3 separate regions of the Homo sapiens genome follow, and regions 2 and 3 are each linked to region 1. The links are contacts of gene promoters, found by promoter capture Hi-C in human tissues and cell types (Jung and others, 2019). All regions are on one chromosome and are shown on one strand. The core of a region is centred on a gene start or on the middle of the fragment in contact, and the rest is flanking DNA. Distances in the headings are between cores, read along the strand shown. Region 1 has its middle 5.0 kb from the start of ZNF544. Region 2 holds the start of ZNF417 (zinc finger protein 417). Region 3 holds the start of ZNF776 (zinc finger protein 776).

Evidence for each region. The method cuts DNA at HindIII sites, captures the fragments that hold promoters and counts their contacts. A contact is called where the count stands out against the background at its distance.
Region 2: a contact is called between the fragment with the promoter of ZNF417 here and a fragment that was not itself captured in region 1, in 1 of the 25 tissues and cell types used here (aorta).
Region 3: the fragment with the promoter of ZNF776 here is called in contact with a fragment that was not itself captured in region 1 in 2 of the 25 tissues and cell types used here (IMR-90 fibroblasts and liver).

The regions. Positions count from the first base shown.
Region 1 is chr19:58,222,385-58,225,459 of GRCh38, reverse strand. It overlaps the pseudogene LOC100419847. Among named protein-coding and RNA genes, the nearest start is that of ZNF544, 5.0 kb to the left of the region's middle. The HindIII fragment of the contact is 6,243 bases long and covers 1-3,075 here.
Region 2 is chr19:57,915,342-57,918,270 of GRCh38, reverse strand. ZNF417 (zinc finger protein 417) reads left to right here and starts at 1,679. Exons shown (of 3, transcript NM_152475.3): 1 at 1,679-1,892. The coding sequence starts at 1,860. RefSeq lists enhancers at 1,303-1,362, 759-1,614, 1,633-1,922. The HindIII fragment of the contact is 14,944 bases long and covers 1-2,929 here.
Region 3 is chr19:57,745,353-57,748,138 of GRCh38, reverse strand. ZNF776 (zinc finger protein 776) reads right to left here and starts at 1,324. Exons shown (of 3, transcript NM_173632.4): 1 at 1,048-1,324. The coding sequence starts at 1,080. RefSeq lists an enhancer at 1,263-1,312. The HindIII fragment of the contact is 15,716 bases long and covers 1-2,786 here.

The DNA of each region.
Region 1 (3,075 bases), core at 88-2,587:
CAAGAATGAGTTATCTGGTGCCTGACATGATTAGAATGCTGCCTGAAAGGCCTTTCTGCACTGATTATATGCATACAGTTTCTCTCTATTATGAATGATCTGGTGTTCCATAAGGTCAGATAGTCTCCTGAAGGCTTTTTCACATTTAGACATTCATGTTGGCTTTTGCCCATATGAATTTTTTGGTGCATACACAATAATAATTCTGTCTGAAAGTTTTTCCACGTTGACTACATTTATAGGCTTCTCTCCAGAATGAGTTATTTGCTGTTCAATAAGGTGAGAATTCTTGCTGCGGGATTTTCCACACCAGTGACATTCATGAGGTTTCTCTCTAATGTGAAATCTCTGATGCCATATAAGTAATCAGCTCCAGCTGATTTCCTACACTCAGGACACTCGCAGTTTCTCACCGGTATGATTTATCTGATGAGCAACAAGTGAGAACTCTAACTGAACCATTTCCAACACTGATTACAGTCACGAAGCTTCTTTCCAGTATGAGTTATTTTATGTGCAACAAGGCCAGAGCTGTATAGAAAGATTTCCTACCTTGACTACATTCATAAGGCTTCTCTCTATTACACTTTCCCTGATGCCAATTAAAATCAAGGATGTCACTGAAATATTTCTCACATTGATTACATGGAATTGTTTTTCTTCAGTATGAGTTTTCTATTGCCCAATTAGATGAGATCTCCTGCTGAAAGCTCTCTGACGTTCCCGATGTTCCCAGAGTCTTCAGTATACGTCTAACAAGGTGGGAGCACCAGGCTGAAAAACTTTCCACATTGATTACATTCATAAATTTTCTATCTGGTATAAGTTGTGATGTGCAACTAGGTGAGAGCTCCATCAAAAAGATTTACCATGTTGAATACATCCATGGGGTTTCTCTCCAGGATGAGTCCTCCCCCTTTGAGAAAGGCAAGAGCTATAAAAGAAGTTTTTCTCAAATTTATTATAATCACATGAATTATTTTATTTTTTTTTTTGAGTCTTGCTTTGTTGCCCAGGCTGTAGTGCAGTGGTGCGATCTCTGCTCACTGCAAGTTCCGCCTCCTGGGTTCATGCCACTCTCCTGCTTCAGCCTCTGGAGTAGCTGGGATTACAGACCCCCGCCACTATGCCTGGCTAATTTTGTTTTTGTATTTTTAGTACAGATGGAATTTCACCGTGTTAGCCAGGATGGTCTCGATCTCCTGACCTCGTGATCCGCCCACCTCGGCCTCCCAAAGTGCTGAGATTACAGGCGGGAGCCACCGTGCCTGGCCAAATTATTTTATCTTTTAAGATTCTCTGGTGTACATTTAGGGATATACTGGGGGTTGTTTTTTGTTTTTTCCTTTTGGCCAGTAGAGATCTAGTGTTGTTCAAGTTGTCTATATTTACTATAGTTATAAAATTTTCCTCCTGTATGACTTTTCTTCTGAATATTAAAGGGTAAAACATGGCAGAAATAAAGATTATTGTTGGCATGCTTATACAGTTTATCTTTTGTTTGCTTTCTTATTAGATGATTAAGGTGAAGCTCTGACAGAAAGTTGGTACACACTCATTTTTGCACAATTTTTCACTTCCATAATTTTTTTTTTTGAGACAGAGTCTCGTTCTGTCGCCCAGGCTGGAGTGCAGTGGTGCGATCTTGGCTCACTGCAACCTCTGCCTCCCAGGTTCAAGCAATTCTCCTTCCTCAGCCTCCTGAGTAGCTGGGATTATGGGCGCGCACCACCACGCCCTGCTAATTTTTGTACTTTTAGTAGAGTCGGGGTTTCACTATGTTGATCAGCTGGTCTCGAATCCCTGACCTCGTGATCTGCCAGCCTCGGCCTCCCAAAGTGCTGGGATTACCGGCATGAGCCACCGTGCCCGACTATAATTTTTCTAATGATTATTGAAATAAACTTATTTTTCAAACTTTTATTCTGTGAGCCAGGTTTATGGAAATATTATAGTATGAATTATCTGGAGTGGAAAAAAGTTGGAACTCAGGAAATAACAGAAAATTCAAATAGAAGATGACATAGACTCCCATCCTGAAATTAAATCTTATGTTTTCATTTTTGGATGACTCTCGTTTTTGCCCAAGTGCATGCTCACTTTTACATGTCTAGAAAAACTTCATACCTTGTGGCTGGGCTCAGTAGCTCACGCCTGTAATTCCAGCACTTTGAGAGGCTGAAGTGGGCAGACCACAAGGTCAGGAGTTCAAGACCAGCCTGACCAACGCGGTGAAACCCTGTCTCTACTAAAAATACAACAATTAGCCAGGCATGGTGGCGGGAGGCTCAGCTACTCGGGAGGCTGAGGCAGGAGAATTGATTGAATCTGGGAGGCAGAGGTTGCAGTGAGCCAAGGTCATGCCATTGCATTCCAGCCTGGGCAACAGGGCAAGACTGTCTAAAAAAAAAAAAAAAAAAAGAAAAAGAAAAAAAAAAACTTCATACATTGAACCTTACATTCATATTTTCTCTTAACTAATTATAGCAGACATCACTTTCAATTTGCTCCAGCCTACTTCTTCCCCCTCATCTGCACCTCTTTCAGTGTAAAATCCTAGCATTCACCTCCCACACTCTTCTCTATTTCCAAACACAACATAAACAATACTGTAGTAAACACCCCCGGACACCCAGAATTAGTGCCTTCATTTCTATAGGTCAGAGCCCCTCCAGTGGGACTGCACAAGTTGAAGGATAAGTGTATTTTTGATTCTCTTAGGTATTACCAAATTACTTTCCAAAGTGAGAATAATAGTCCCTATTCTTTCCAGCATTGGGTATTATCCTTTGTATTTTGCCAGTATTTTGGGTAAAAGTAACATTTTGTGTAATTTGTATTCCCTAGCTACTTGTGATTTCAGGATCTTTACATATTCTTACTGGTTATTTGAGGTTTTGTTTTCTGTGTTTTGTCTAATTAATATTTTTTTCTTTTTTGGCACTTTATAGGCGTTCATGATAGTTTATCAATGTTAATCTCGTCTGTCATTTGTGTAACAAATATTTTTCTCAATACATAGTTTATTCTCTTTTTAAATTTATGGTATCTATTTTAGCATACAAAAAATTCTTT
Region 2 (2,929 bases), core at 430-2,929, 310 kb after region 1:
GTTAATTTAAATAGTTTATTTTGCTGGCCAGGTGTGGTGACTCATGCCTGTAACCCCAACACATTGGAGGGTGAGGCAGGCAGATCACGAGGGAGATCGAGACCATCCTAAACAAGGTGAAACCCCCGTCTGTACTGAAACTACAAAAATTGGCGTGATGCCACGTGCCTGTACTCCCAGCTACTCGGGAGGCTAAGGCAGGAGAATCACTTGAACCCGAGAGGCAGAGGTTGCAGTGAGCCGAGATCGCGCCACTGCACTCGAGCCTGACCAAAGAGCGAGACTCCGTCTCATAAAAGAAAAAGTTTATTTTGCCAAGGTTGAGGACACATGCCCGTGACACAGCCTCAGGAAGTCCTGACGACATGTGCCCATGGTGGTTGGGGTACAGGTTGGTTTTATACATTTTAGGGGGACATGAGACATCAGTGAATATATGTAAGAAGTACATTGGTTCCGACCAGAAAGGCGGGAACAACTCGAAGCAGGGAGGGGACTTCCAGGTCACAGGTAGACAGGTAGAGAGACAAATAGTTGGATTCTTTTTAATTTCTGATAAGTCCTTCCAAAGGAGGCAATCAGAATAGGCATCTATCTCAGTGAGGAGAGGGAAGACTTTGAATAGAATGGGAGGCAAGTTTGCCCTGAGCAGTTCCCAGATTGACTTTTCCCTTTAGCTTAGTAATTTTGAGGCCACAAGATTTTCCTTTCACAGATTCTATCAGCAGGAGAGTTGTTTTCTGTAGGAATCACAGAGATTCAGCTTTGCACTCCTGCTATAGGGGAGCACATCCCTAACTTCCTTCATTTGCCTTAGGCACTCTAAGGCTTCTGAGGGCCTTCAGACACATTATAACACAACAACGCTTATCAGCCTCTGCTTCCAGTGCAGGTATTTTGCGACTGAACGACTGTTTCAAACGGTGTGGTAATTTGGATTTTTAGCCTTTAGGAGAATCCTAAATAATAGTTTTAGCTTGAGCTCCCTATTATTTACCTTGCGCTCCCCGAAATCTGAAACAGTATTTTTCCAGATTCTTGAGTGATTAGTTACAGACACTAGTCTCCAGGAATCTCAATACGGCTTCTAAGGCTAGGTGAGACCCCTCCTCTGCCCTAGAAAGGCGCCTTTTTTTTTTTTTTTTTTTTTTTTTTTTTTTTTTTTTTTGAGACAGAGTCTTGCTCTGTCGCGCAGGCTGGAGGGCAGTGGCGCGATCCCAGCTCACTGCAAGCTCTGCCTCCCAGGTTCACGCCATTCTCCTCCAGCCTCAGCCTCCAGAGTAGCTGTGACTGTAGGCGCCCGCCACCACACCCAGCTAACTTTTTTTTTTTTTGAATTTTTAGTAGACACGGGGTTTCACCGTGTTAGCCAGGATGGTCTCCATCTCCTGACCTCGTGATCCGCCCACCTCCGCCTTCCAAAGTGCTGAGATTACAGGCTTGAGCCACTGCGCCCGGCCAGAAGGGTGCGCTTTTTAAGGAGAACCCCTGACCTGATGGCGGGCTTTTCCTGCAGATGGACTCTGGGTATCGCTCTTTTTAGCGCCATGGAAAGTGGGGAACTACATTACCCAGAAAGCTCTGCGTTAAACGACAGCCGGTCAGAGCCAATGAGCACTCGGAAAGAAGGCATTTCCACGTGTGCACGTAACGTAAGGCTGAGACTTCCGGGGTCTCTAGTAGCGGCTGTGTATCGGTGACGCGGGTGTTTCCCCAGTTTGTGGCCCCTGAGTGCTGGGGGGGGACCGCGGTGACTGAACCTAGAAGGTGGAGAGGAATCGTCCTCGGTGCCCAGAGGCGGCTCTGCAGCCCCGTGACGGCGACCACTGCTCCCGGGCCGTGCTTCCCCAAGTAGTCCGATGGCAGCGGCTGCGCCGAGGCGCCCGACTCAGGTAATTGTGGCGCCTTCTGTGCCCTCAGGTCACCCCATCGTCACCCAGGTCCTAAACCAGCGAGGGAGCGGCTCCTGCTCACGGGTCTGTAGCCGGTACCCGGCGTAGGAACACTGAGGCGCTCGCAGGAGGGGTCCCTGTGTAACTGTCCAGTGGGGGTCCCTGTGTAACTGTCCAGTGGGTTCACCTTGCCAGCTGCCTAGACAGAGCCGATTTATGAAGACTGGAGAATTGCGATGGAGAAATAGTAATTGACGCAGAGCCGTCAGGCTGTTCTGGAGACAGGAGTTTTATTATTACTCAAATCAGTCTCCATTAGCATTCCGGGATCAGAGTTTTCAACATTAATTTGGCGGTAAGGGTTGGGACCTGAGATGGATTCATAGAGGGTTAAAGTGAGTTTTTCATGCTGTTTTCTGTTCTGGGTGGGATGGCAGAACTGATTGACCCAGATTACCGGTCTGTGTGTTGTCAGCTGATCCATCCAGTGCAGGATCTGCAAAATACCTCAAGCACTGATCTTAGGTTTTACAATAGTGATTTATCTTCAGGAGCAACTTGGGGAGGTTCAGACTCTTGGAGTCAGAAGCTGCATGACCCCTAAACGGTAATTTCTAACCTTGTAGCTAATTCGTTAGTCCTGCAAAGGCAGGCTGTTCTCCAGGCAAGAAGGGGGTCTTTTCAGGAAAGGGCTATTATCAATTTTGTTTCAGAGTGAAACCATGAACTGAATTCCTTCCCTAAGTTAATTCAGCCTATACCCAGGAATGAACAAGGACAGCTGAAAGGTTGGAAGCAAGACGGAGTCAGTAAGGTCTGATTTCTTTCACTGTCATAATTTCCTCAGTTATAATTTTGCAAAGACGGTTTCACCTGTTTCTGACACCCGTGGGATGCGGTGGGGAGAGCAACAAGCACAGGGAGGGGCGCAGGCAATGGCCTGGAGATGGACGGAGCCGGGAGGATGGAACCTGTCTGGAACAAAGTGTGAGGTGGAGCTCTCCCTGGAAGAGTAAGCAGGCCGAGGGCTGTGCATT
Region 3 (2,786 bases), core at 75-2,574, 480 kb after region 1:
AACTCTCATCTTATTTCCTCCTCTCTCAACCCCACAGTCTGTTCTCCACTGTACAGCCAGAGGAGACTACAGCCAGATGAAACTGTGGCAACATCACCTCCTCCCTCTGGTCAGTTTCACCTCTAAGCATTTCACATCCTGGTACTAACTCCTGGGTTAACCTTCCAAGTATGTTTATACTGGTTGACAGAAATGGGAATACCTCCATATATCCTGTGTCACAGACTTTGGATCCTGGGTTTAAGGTTCCTCCAGGGTTCCCATATCAAAAAACTTAAAAAAAAAAAAAAAAAGGTACCTAAGAATCCCAGGACATCCCAATCTAAAGAGCATGTGGATAGGAGTTAGGGCCAGTGAGGGAATAACACCCTCCGCTTCCCTGCGGAGGTTCTGCAAGTGCTTCTGCAGCCAGGAGTTCCTGAGAGGAGAGGCACAAGCTACAAGAATGTATCCCTGATGAGATTTGATAAGCTCAGGCCTCCCTGAACTCTTTCTTGGCCCTGTAACTAGGTAAACGCGAGTTGGTTGTCTGAACTGAGCGCCTCAGTACAAAATGTCATCTCTTAGCACCTATCTGATCTGTAGAGGTTGAACAAGAATTCAACCTCCCAGGGCCCAAAAGTCATCCCCTGTGTTCTTTTTCGACTGGACTTTGGGAAACCTTTAAAGCCTGGACATTGATCTTTTCCTTCCTTTGTTGGAAGCTGTCCATGGCTTCCAGCGTTCTCAGGGTGAATACACGGTCCTCAGCCTGCTCTTCCAGGAGGAGCTCTGCCTCACACTTTGCTCCCGACAGGTGCCTGTGGACCCTAGGTTACGATCCTCTCGGCTCAGTTCATCTCCAGGCCTTTGCCTGCACCGCTCCCTGTGCCTGTAGCTCTCCTGAGCGCATCCCGCGGGTGTCAAAAACGGGGGCCCATAGAGAGCGCCTCAGTGTCCCGACGCCGGGTTCAGGGTGTAAAACCTTGAGCAGGCGCCGCTTCCTCTCTGCTTTTGGACTTAGGTAAAGATGAGGTGACCTGAGGGCACGGAAGACGCCACAATTACCTGAGCCGGGGGCCTCAGCGCGGCCGCCGCCATCCGACTGGGTGGGGAAAGCGGGGTCGAAAGGAGGGGGCGAGCAGTGCAGGTACCCGGGCACGGTGGTCCCGATCCCGGCCTTGGTGCGGGTCACGCCTAGCGCCTTTAAGGAGCTGCAGAGCAGCCTCTGTGCAGTCGGGACAACGTCTCGTCTCCACCTTCTGGGTTCAGTCACTTCTACACGACCCAACACTCCGCGGTCTCTCACTGGAAAATACACCCAACACCAATCAAAATGGCCACTAGTAGAGGACGCCGGAAGTCCCACCTTTATACTGTTTCCGCGGAAACGCCTTTATTTTGAGCCCTCATTGGCTCTGACGCGCTGTCATTCGACGCAGAGATTTCTGGGTTATGTAGTTTCCTCAGGTTCCAAGACAGTTCCAAGGCGGTAAAGAAGGCCTTCTCAGAGGCGCTTGATTGCACAGAGTGGTGAATAAACACTACTCTGGCCTAAGTGTCATCTTCCCTCAATTTGACTATACTTCTGCATGTATCTATTTCATGTCTATTTTCTCCTTGAAAGTCTATATCCCCTGTCAAACTATGCTGTCAGGTATACCCTACCATCACGTTCACTTACTTGCAGGAAAGGCCCAGCTCCATCTCAGCGGCCTGTCCTTAAAGTGCATGTCCTTCTAGGGTAGAGGATAGTCTCACCTAGCCTTAGAACCCGTATTGAGATTTTTGGAGATTAGTGTCTGTAACTGATCACTCAAGTATTTGAAAAAATATTATTTTAGATTTTGGGGAACTCGAGCTCTCCGATGCTAAACTTATTATTTAGGATGCCCCCAAAGACTAAAAATCCAAATTATCATAACGTTTTGAACAGTCTTTCAGTCGCAAAATCCCGGTACTGGCAGCAGAGGCTGATAAACATTATTGTGTTATAAATTCACATGAATGCACTCTGAGGCATTAGAGTCAGTTTCTCAGTCTGTCAGGGACAAGAGAGAACTAATCCAGATAGGACAAGACAAGGAAGATAGAGGAGAAATGTTGTGTTCCCTAAAGCAGGAATACATGCTGAATCTCTGTCTGTGATTCCCACAGAAGACAACTCTCCTGCCTATAAAATCAATCATAGTGTCCAGTACATTGAGCAACACTTTTATCCACTTAGTATCCCTCGCTTGAGATTCCAACTTATATTCAATTAATTCTGGATTAATTTATCTAAGATTTATCAATCTTACAGGAAGACCAATGAAAGAAATGCTATTTTGGTAGTGATAAATGGCTGCAGTTTTCAAAGGTGGGGCACGTATGCAGAAGATGCTCTCCACCTGTTGATATTGGTTGTGTCTTAAATCCAGGAGTTCATGTTATTGCTGGGAAGTGGCTATTTTTTTTTTTTTGTATTAGATAAAACAGACTTTATTTATTTCTTTTCTTTTTTTTTTTTTGTGACTATTCTTTATTTCTGTTTCCATGGCAAGGAGTGTTTTGCCTAATAAATTAATGTTATGGATGGGATTACAGGCATGAGCCACCATACCTGGCTAATTTTGTATTTTTAGTAGAGACGGGGTTTCTCCATGTTGGTCAGGCTGGTCTCGAACTCTCAACCTCAGGTGATCCACCTGTCTCGGCCTCCCAAAGTGCTGGGATTAAAGGCATGAGCCACTGTACCCAGCCGCTCAGTTCTTAAAAAACCTATGTCTTCTATGTTCAGGGAGAAGAGGCATTTAGAGCAAGAGCTT